Linked DNA regions of Homo sapiens: region 1 is linked to region 2. Evidence: promoter capture Hi-C in human tissues and cell types (Jung and others, 2019). All regions are on one chromosome and are shown on one strand. The core of a region is centred on a gene start or on the middle of the fragment in contact, and the rest is flanking DNA. Distances in the headings are between cores, read along the strand shown.

The links. The method cuts DNA at HindIII sites, captures the fragments that hold promoters and counts their contacts. A contact is called where the count stands out against the background at its distance.
Region 1: the fragment with the promoter of C20orf141 here is called in contact with a fragment that was not itself captured in region 2 in 1 of the 25 tissues and cell types used here (mesendoderm cells).

Annotation. Positions count from the first base shown.
Region 1 is chr20:2,811,858-2,816,738 of GRCh38, forward strand. It overlaps C20orf141 (chromosome 20 open reading frame 141), which reads left to right and starts at 3,130. Exons shown (of 3, transcript NM_001256538.2): 1 at 3,130-3,160; 2 at 3,295-3,587; 3 at 3,681-3,973. The coding sequence starts at 3,328. The coding sequence ends at 3,918. It overlaps TMEM239 (transmembrane protein 239), which reads left to right and starts at 4,507. Exons shown (of 2, transcript NM_001167670.3): 1 at 4,507-4,558; 2 at 4,687-4,881. The coding sequence starts at 4,698. The HindIII fragment of the contact is 18,533 bases long and covers 1-4,881 here.
Region 2 is chr20:2,482,711-2,487,310 of GRCh38, forward strand. ZNF343 (zinc finger protein 343) reads right to left here. Exons shown (of 6, transcript NM_024325.6): 6 at 1-1,946. The coding sequence ends at 451. Among named protein-coding and RNA genes, the nearest start is that of SNRPB, 14 kb to the left of the region's middle. The HindIII fragment of the contact is 4,668 bases long and covers 1-3,774 here.

The DNA.
Region 1 (4,881 bases), core at 1,880-4,379, 330 kb after region 2:
TGCATTTCTTGATTTTTCTTTATGTAGTTGTTATCTGTGGATTTCTGCTATGAAATTAAGGCGTTAGTTTTTCTACCACCCTCCCCTCAATACACACATCCAGATACACAAACATACACTCCCTCCTTCCATTTTCAGTAAAGCTCAATTGCTATTTGGAATCAATATTCAGTGCTTTTGTTATGACTATGTAAATATTATGTTTAAATTTGTGCTACCTGGAGTTAGTAATTACTTTGTTTTTATCATTTGCTTAGTTTTCTAGGCATCACTCATTAATTCAATCGCAAAGCTTCCAGTGTAACTGAACATTTACTCAATATAGCCAAACATAGCTAATAATCAGTTGATTTCATTTTCCTCTGGAGACATCGCTCCTAGAGCACATCTTCTGATTTCAGGCTGGGTTGGTTACTTTCTTTACCCGGGGGTATAGTTGACATCCCAGGCCTTTCTCATCGTCCCTTTTCTGTGCTTAATCTCATTTATTGAATGCCATATTGCTCTCTTTCTTAGTTTAATTCTTTGTTTTGCTGAAGCACATCCTCCAGTAGCTTTCTAAGAAAGGGTATATGCAAGGTCAAATTTCTGAGACCTTGTATGATTGAAATGTCATTATTCTACCCTCCCAATTAATAATCATTCAGACCTATACATTTCTATATTAGACATCATTTTGAGGGCATTTATTGTCTTCTAGCTACCAGTATTGGTGTTTAGAAGTGTGATACCATTCTTGCTTCAGATCCGATGTATGTGATGTTTTTATTTGGTGGAAGCTCTTAGGATTGTCTTTTTATCCCTGCTAATGTGAATTTCATTATATGCCTTGATGTTAGCTGCCCTGTTTCATGTATTGGGCTGTGAATTGGTGGAAAGTTATGGTCTAGAGAATCATGTCCTTCAATTCTGAAGAGTCTCTTGATTTTTAAAAATCTTTCCCTTCTGGTCGGGCAGGGTGGCTCACACCTGTAATCCCAGCACTTTGGGAGGCTGAGGCGGTCACATCACCTGAGGTCAGGAGTTTGAGACCAGCCTGGCCGACATGGTGAAACCCTGTCTCTACTAAAAATACAAAAATTAGCTGGGTGTGGTGGTGGGTGCCTGTAATCTCAGTTACTTGGGAGGCTGAAGCAGGAGAATCACTTAAACCCGGGAGGCGGAGGTTGCAGTGAGCCAAGATGGCGCCATTGCACTCCAGCCTGGGCAACAAGAGCGAAACTCTGTCTCAAAAAAAAAAAAAAAAAAAAATAGAAAGAAAGGTTTTCCTCCTCAGAGCACTCCCTCAATAAACCATGTGTACAAGTATCCCCATCTCAGGCTCTACTTTTAGAAATTATGACCCATTGATATAGTCTGAATATTTGTCCAAATCTCAAGTTGAAATCTCAAATCCCAATGTTGGAGGTAGGGCCTGATGGGAGGTGTTTGGGTCATGGGGGTGGATATTTCATGGCTTGGTGCTGTCCTTGAAATAGTGAGTGAGTTCTCTCAAGATCTGGTTGTTTAAGTGTGTGGCAACTCCCCTAACCACCACTCTCTCCCTTGCTCTTCACCCTTTGCCTTCTGCCATGATTGGAAGTTTCCTGAGGTCTCCCCAAAAGCAGATGCTGGTACCCTACTTCCTGTACAGCCTGCAAAACTGCAAGCCAATTAAGCCTCTTTTCTTATAAATTACCCAGTCTCAGGTATTTCTTCATAGCAACGCAAGAATGGCCTAATACACCCACCATCTGGTGCAGTGCCTGGCACATAGGAAGCACTTAAATAAATGATTGTTGAATACAAAATAAACTCTGAGAAAATCACAGACAGAACTCTCCTATACATGCATACAGAGCACCTGGTGCATAGTAAATCTTTAAGGAGCTTTAGACTCTCCGATCCCCCCATGCCCTGCAATATGGAGTAGCCTCATCTTGGTGGACTCATCAGGACATGCTCCCCAGGTCTGTATGTCCAGGAATGCAATTGTGTGGATGCATCCAGGATTGATCAGGCTCAGGGAATTGCCAATCTTAAACCTTAATGTTCCTTTACAAGCACAATTGGAACTTAATGCCAAAAAAAAAAAAATTCTGGGATCTTCTGTTATACCCTATCCCATTACGGACAAATCTACTCGTAAAACCCAGCTGCTGGATAAGCAAGAACAGCCAGACCAAGGGCGATCAGTGCATGGTCATTAGGGCTGGTGACCCTCGTCTCTGGGCAAGGCCTGCTGGAGGTGGATATGCAGCCTGATTCTTGTTCTGTCTCCTCCTCTCCTAGGGGCTGTATGGCCACTGTCTCCCATTTTGCCACCCCTACCAGTTTTCCTTCAAAGTATGATATGTGGGCAAAGATTAAGTTCTCTTAATTATGACACATTTCCGCTCTTGCCTCTCAAGTCACTAAACTGAGATGTGCTGGACCCCTATGGCCACCACCCATTTACAGATGATCAGTGTAATCTGATATACTGATAATCCAAGTGACTAAGCCCTTCATTATATGTTCATTTTCCTTAACTCCATTCTCAGACTGTAACCTTAACCTCTAATAAGGGGGTTACTAGGTCATAGTCCTCTTAAGTTCATGTCCTCTACCTCATTACTGGAACCCCAGTATGCATAACACCCCCTATAAACTGTAGTGCTTAGAATACCTGAACAGCCCCCTCCTCTCTCACCCCCATTTAGCAGGTTATGCGGAAGCCCAGCCCCAGAAGCCTCAGGCAGTCCCCTGGCAGAGCCCATCTCTGCAATCTGGAACTTCAGGCCTGAAAAATCCCCTAGAAGGACCCACAGGGAAGACAGCTGGGGACAGAGATATTGAATGACTTCGCCCTGGACCTGCAGCTCTGCAAACTCACAGGAAGAAGAAAGCAGACCTCGCTCCCTTGGACAGATGCCCAAGTAGTAATGGGGTTAGAATGCCTTCCTGACAACTCAGATCCCCAAGGGAGGGCCCTAGGGCAGAGAATCAGCAAAGGCAAGAGGATGAGTCTTAGTTCTCAGAAATCCCTGACTTCCCAGCTAAGCCCCACCTAGGCCACCAGCTGCTTATGAGGTCAGAGCAGCAGCAGCAGCAGCCCCCTCCCTACCCCACGGCCCCACGTGGTAACAGGTCACAATGCCCCGGGTGCCCACTCCCAGAATGCTGACCAAAGTGGGAGGAGGTGAGGAGGGTTTGCTGGGTGGGTATGGGGGAGGGGGAGACTCTGCAGGAGCCTAATTCCCCACTCTGAGCTCACCCTTCTGTCTGCCCGGGCCCTACCCCTTCCCCTACTCTCACCCTTATAATCCTTTTCAGCACTAGGTCTTCCCGTCACCTCCACCTCTCTCCATGACCCGGCTCTGCTTACCCAGACCCGAAGCACGTGAGGATCCGATCCCAGTTCCTCCAAGGGGCCTGGGTGCTGGGGAGGGGTCAGGTAGTCCAGTGCGTCCACCTGTATCCACCTGGGGCCCTAGCTGGGCCCAGCTCCTGGACAGTGTCCTATGGCTGGGGGCACTAGGACTGACAATCCAGGCAGTCTTTTCCACCACTGGCCCAGCCCTGCTGCTGCTTCTGGTCAGCTTCCTCACCTTTGACCTGCTCCATAGGTAAGTGGGCAGCAGCCTGGCAGGTGGGCATTGTAGGCGGGCGGGCCAGTGGACAACTTCCCTAAGCCCAGTCACCACCCTCTCTCTCCACAGGCCCGCAGGTCACACTCTGCCACAGCGCAAACTTCTCACCAGGGGCCAGAGTCAGGGGGCCGGTGAAGGTCCTGGACAGCAGGAGGCTCTACTCCTGCAAATGGGTACAGTCTCAGGACAACTTAGCCTCCAGGACGCACTGCTGCTGCTGCTCATGGGGCTGGGCCCGCTCCTGAGAGCCTGTGGCATGCCCTTGACCCTGCTTGGCCTGGCTTTCTGCCTCCATCCTTGGGCCTGAGAGCCCCTCCCCACAACTCAGTGTCCTTCAAATATACAATGACCACCCTTCTTCATCAGGCCCCCTTTTCTCCTTCCTGGCTGGGCAGGTGGGATGATACCCCTTTCTTCCCAGCCTGAACCTCACAGTCCTATAATATAGGTATCAGATACCTGGATCTGAGTCTTTGGGCAGCAAGAGAAGGTAGGATACTAGCCAGGGAGCCCAAGGAAGAATGTGGCAGCCACCTCAGAGCCTGTGGATTGGGGGCAGCCACTCTGGCCTCCTCTGTGGCTCTAGAGAATGAAGGTCCAGACAGAAAGACTTGCGAGAGAGCAGTTTGGAAAGGGGTGGATATCAGCCAGCAGGGAAAGCAGGAAAGGGACAGGGATCCAGGGAGGGCTTCCCATGAGAAAGCATGAGAAACTACATCTGCGGGGCTCCGAGGCTCCCCTGCCAGCCTGGAGGGTCCGTGCAGAGGGACTTGGGTGGGCCTCACACCCTACAGTGACTCCTCTCTTGGCTGGACCCCACCCCAGCCCGGGTCACAAAGGGGCTCCTCTGGGGAGGGTGGGGGTAGATGAGAGTGGGGACTTGGATCTGCCTGCCAGGCCGTCCTGGGCGCTGCAGGAAGCAACATGACTTAGGTAACTGCCCAGAGGTAAGTCCCAGTCCCTAATTCTGTAGCCCCACCCCACGCACACTGGTGCCCTCCTGACCCCTGCACCCCCTCTCTGCCCCCCCCCCCCAAGGTCCCAGGCATCTTCAAGACCCTGGCCCTCTCCCCAGGTGCACCAGACATGATGCAGCAGCCGCGAGTGGAGACAGATACCATCGGGGCTGGCGAGGGGCCACAGCAGGCAGTGCCCTGGTCAGCCTGGGTCACGAGGCATGGCTGGGTGCGCTGGTGGGTGAGCCACATGCCCCCGAGCTGGATCCAGTGGTGGAGCACCTCGAACTGGCGGCAACCGCTGCAGCGCCTGC
Region 2 (4,600 bases), core at 191-2,690:
TGATCACAAAAGCTTTGCCCATACATCCTACAAACAAAGACCTCCTTCCTGAGGGCCACTCTGTGCCTGAGTGTCCATTCTTTTACTGATGCTCCCCAACACTCCCCAGACAAGGGTGCTTTCCCCTGAGGCTGTCATTGGATGTCTGGTAAATGTTGATTATTGCTAAAGCCTTCCCACAGTCCCTACACATAAACTTCTCTCCTAAGTGTGTCCTTTTGTGCATGCTCAAGGCTGACTGATGGCTACAGTTGCCCGTACTCTATACTCATAAGGCTCCTCTCCTGAACGTGTCCCTCCCATGCCTGATAAGGGCTGACACATCTCTGGAACTTCACTCACAATCTGTGTACACAGGGTCTACTCCCCATGTGTCTCTCTGGGGTAACATGAGGCTTGACTGGTCACTCAGGTCTTGTTCATGACCCCTGCATACACAGGTTTCTCCCGTCAGTGTGTCCTCTGGTGTCTGATGAGATTTGACTTATGACTAAAGCCTCGCCCACACTCCCTACAAACATAATGCTTCTCCCCTGAGTGTGTCCTCTGGTGGACAAGGAGGAGTGATTTCCGGCTAAAGCCTCGGCCACACTCACTGCACACGTAAGGCTTCTCTCCTGAGTGTGTCCTCTCATGTACAATGAGGGTTGACTTGTCACAAAAGCCTCGCCCACATTCCCTGCAAATATAAGGCTTCTCATTTGAGTGCGTCCTCTGGTGTCTGATGAGATTTGACTTCTGGCTAAAACCTCGCCTACACTCCCTGCAGACATAATGCTTCTCCCCTGAGTGTGTCCTCTGGTGGACAAGGAGGAGTGATTTCCGACTAAAGCCTCGGCCACACTCACCACACACATAAGGCTTCTCTCCAGAGTGCGTCCGCTCGTGTATGATGAGGGTTGACTTGTCACAAAAGCCTCGCCCACACTCCCTGCAAACATAAGGCTTCTCATCCAAGTGTGTCCTCTGGTGTTTGATGAGATCTGAGTTCTGGCTAAAGCCTCGCCCACACTCCCTGCAAACATAAGGCTTCTCCCCTGAGTGTATCCTCTGGTGTTTTCTGAGGGTTGACTTATCACAAAAGCTTCGTCCACACTCCAGGCACACATAGGGTTTCTCACCGGAGTGTGTCCTCTGGTGTCTGATGAAGGATGACTTCTCGCTAAAGCCTCGCCCACACTCGCTGCAAACATAGGGCTTCTCCTCTGAGTGAGTCCACTGATGTCTATTGAGGATGGACTTACTTCTAAAGCTTTGCCCACACTCCCTGCACAAATAAGGCTTCTCTTCTGAATGTGTTCTCTGGTGTCTGCTGAGGTTGGACTTCTGGCTAAAACCTCGCCCGCACTCACTGCACACATAAGGCTTCTCCATCGAGTGTATACGATGGTGTCTGATGAGGGTTGATCTATCTTTAAAGCTTCGCCCACAATCACTGCAAATGTAGGGCTTCTTCCCTAAGAGGGTCCTCGGGTTTGTAATAAAGTTTGATTCCAGGTTATGGTCCGGTTCATACTCTCTACAGTTGATTGCTCCAAATCTCAAGGTTTCTAATTCCTTCAAGCCTTTGTCTAGCTGCACAGGGTTTGGTCTTTGGGCTGAGCTGGGCTCTGTTTCTACCACCATGTTGCCTTTTCTAGGACTTGCTGACTGTCTTTGGAGTGGGCTGGGGAATGCCCTTGAGGTTTCTCTCTCCTCTGTCCTTGCAGACCAGGGTTTGGAGCCACCTCCTCTCTCCTGACCTTCTGCATTTTCAAACCAACAGCTTACATGGGAATACTGCTGCCCCTGCTGTTTCCAATGCCCTGGGCTAGAATTCCCTGGATGGAAGTGATTTTCTGCACATAAGCCCAGGAAGATCTGAAGTACATGTTGACTGAGGAACTGCTGACAGGAGAAGGCCAGAAGGCAGGAGGAACAAGTGTAGATTTCTGGCTTTGGTTCTGCTGAAGAATGAAAGTTTTCTGTTAGAGTAGCCATAAGTAGGGCTGCTGAGTTGTTCTGCCTTGTCTTAGGACAGAGAATGTTTTACTGCCATGCCTATAATTGATAATATAAGTATAACACAATTTGCTTCTGAACAATGATTCCTTTACATTCCATCACATTTTCTATTGCAATCCAGAAAATCCATAACAAAAATATCTTGAGAAACCAGGAACCTCTCAAGTGAGTATTCTGCTCTGTAAACAGCTTCAATCATAGTTAGCCTTCTCCTAAGCCATAGACATTCACATTGGTATATACTGTCCACAGCTCTTTGTTCTGCTTGGAGATAGTGGTCTCTATGACACATGTGGAAATCTCCTTCATGACTTTTCTTATTATATAAAAAAGGGTCTGATAGACATAAAAAGTCCCTCATTCTGGAGGGCTTCCGAATGTAGGAGAAAGTGTATGGAATACTGGTTAAAGAAATTATTGTATATAAAACAAATATAAATTTCAGGCTGCCCACCTGTAAACAAAGACTTATTAGAAAATGCCAAAGTACTAGGTTCTCTACTAAGTATTATGAATTCAGTAATGAACAAGAAAGACATGGTCCATGATTTTAGGATTCTGGCACCAAGCCAAAACAACAAAATCTGCCTTTCTTTCCACTTTTCATAAATCAGTAAAAAGAAAAACTTTTCATTTACAGCAGCACCTGCCTACAAAATATCAAAACTAGATGTTGCATTTCATCACAACATGATCTATCCAACTGATGCTGAGAAATGACCACGTACTTGGCCCCAGACCCTACTGGGCCTAACTGAAGACTTCTGCCTAACTAATGAACACTGGAATCTTTATAATCAACTGTATCTGTCCTTAAAAACTCATCCTATCCTATCTGGAATGCTAGTTTTCAAACCTTAATTAGCATAACCATCATGAAACTGCTCCCTAACAGTAAAACCTTTTATTTTTCCCCCTTGCCAAACTATACAGTGAATTTCTTCACTGCTGTGTCTCCTTTCCTGTTAAGTAAATGATTTGTGCCATTTGATTTTTTGACCTTTTGTGGTCTTTGTTTTAGTTTTTGACAATGTGTTTTCCCTTTGGTTGCTCTGACAAGGCACCGACCAGTGCTGGAACTGCTGGACTGCCAGAGGAACACAGCTGTGTGTAGACTGAGCCGTATGTGCTCAAAGCTGCTTGTCTGGCAGCCTTGCCATGGGTGAGGCTCTCAGCAGCTGTCAGGCTCTGCTTGCTGTCACTGAGCACTCCCTGAGTCTGTTTGGTTTACTTGGGTTCTCAAAGTAACTCATTATTTGTTTCTATTTCTGACCCGTCATCTCTTATAAGACTTGTGGTCATTCTGGTACTTTGTGACGTGAACTTTTTGCCTTGATATTTTGACTGTGATTCGCTGCCATCTTTTTGGATTATCTAGAAGCATACCAAGTCATTCAGACTGCAGTCTGAATATATATACGGCAGTGATGTAACACCCTACATCACTGAGAAGCATTTCAGTAGGAGAAGAAATCTCATTTGTGTCTATTTTGTGTCAAACACTGGAACCAAAAGCTCCTTACACTTAACACCCTGTTAAAGGGACCCCATGTATACTCACTATGATTCTAATCCCTACGCCTTACTAGGAAAGTATCATCATTTCACTAAAGATAATTTAGATTTACTGAGGCCATTTTGAGGAACTCTGTTTTCTATCATGCCCCTTTGCTATATAATAATTCAGTATATATTTCTAAAGAACTATATAGTTGAGAGATCTGTCTTGCATCATCAATATATTTACTCATTTGCTTAATCTTAAAATGCAAGGAATAAGGCCGGGTGCAGTGGCTCATGCCAGTACTCTGGGAGGCTGAGGCAGGTGGATCACCTGAGGTCGGGAGTTCCAGACCAGCCTGACCAATGTGGAGAAACCCCATCTCTACTGAAAATACAAAATTAGCCAGGTGTGGTGGCACATGCCTGTAATCCCAACTACTCGAGAGGCTGTGGCAGGAGAATTGCTTGAACCCGGGAGGCAAAGGTTGTGGTGAGCCGAGATTGCACGATTGCACTCTAGCCTGGGCAACAAGAGCGAAACTCCATCTTAAAAAAAAAAAAAAATGCAAGGAATATAGTTTCAGAATTGTGGACCCACATCCTTACAAAACACAAATATACAAAATATAGTCCATATAGTTCATGCACTTCTTTGTCAATAGAGAAGGAGTTGGCCAATTTTTTCTGTAAAGAACCAGAGTAAATATTTTAGGGTTTGTAGGTGACATGGTCTCTATCATGACTGCTTAACTCTGCCATTGTATAACAAAAGCAGCCATAAATAATTCATTGTTCCAAAAAAACTTTATTTACAAAAACAGGCAGTGAGACAGATTTGGCCTGTAGACCCTAGTTTGCCAACCCTCATTTTACTATGGAGTATGGTCAAAGCTCTCTGTTAACGGGGTTGTTTTCCCCTGTTACCTGTGGTCGTGTTATTATTTTGGAACACAGTTAGGTAAATTTGTTTCTCTTTGTATTCGATTGTAGGGATTTTCCCTCTCTTTGTTGATTTAATTCCTTTCTTTGAGTATTTAAACACTAACATGCTCCAAAAGTGCAAAACTATTCAGAAAGGGCATGCCTCTCCTTT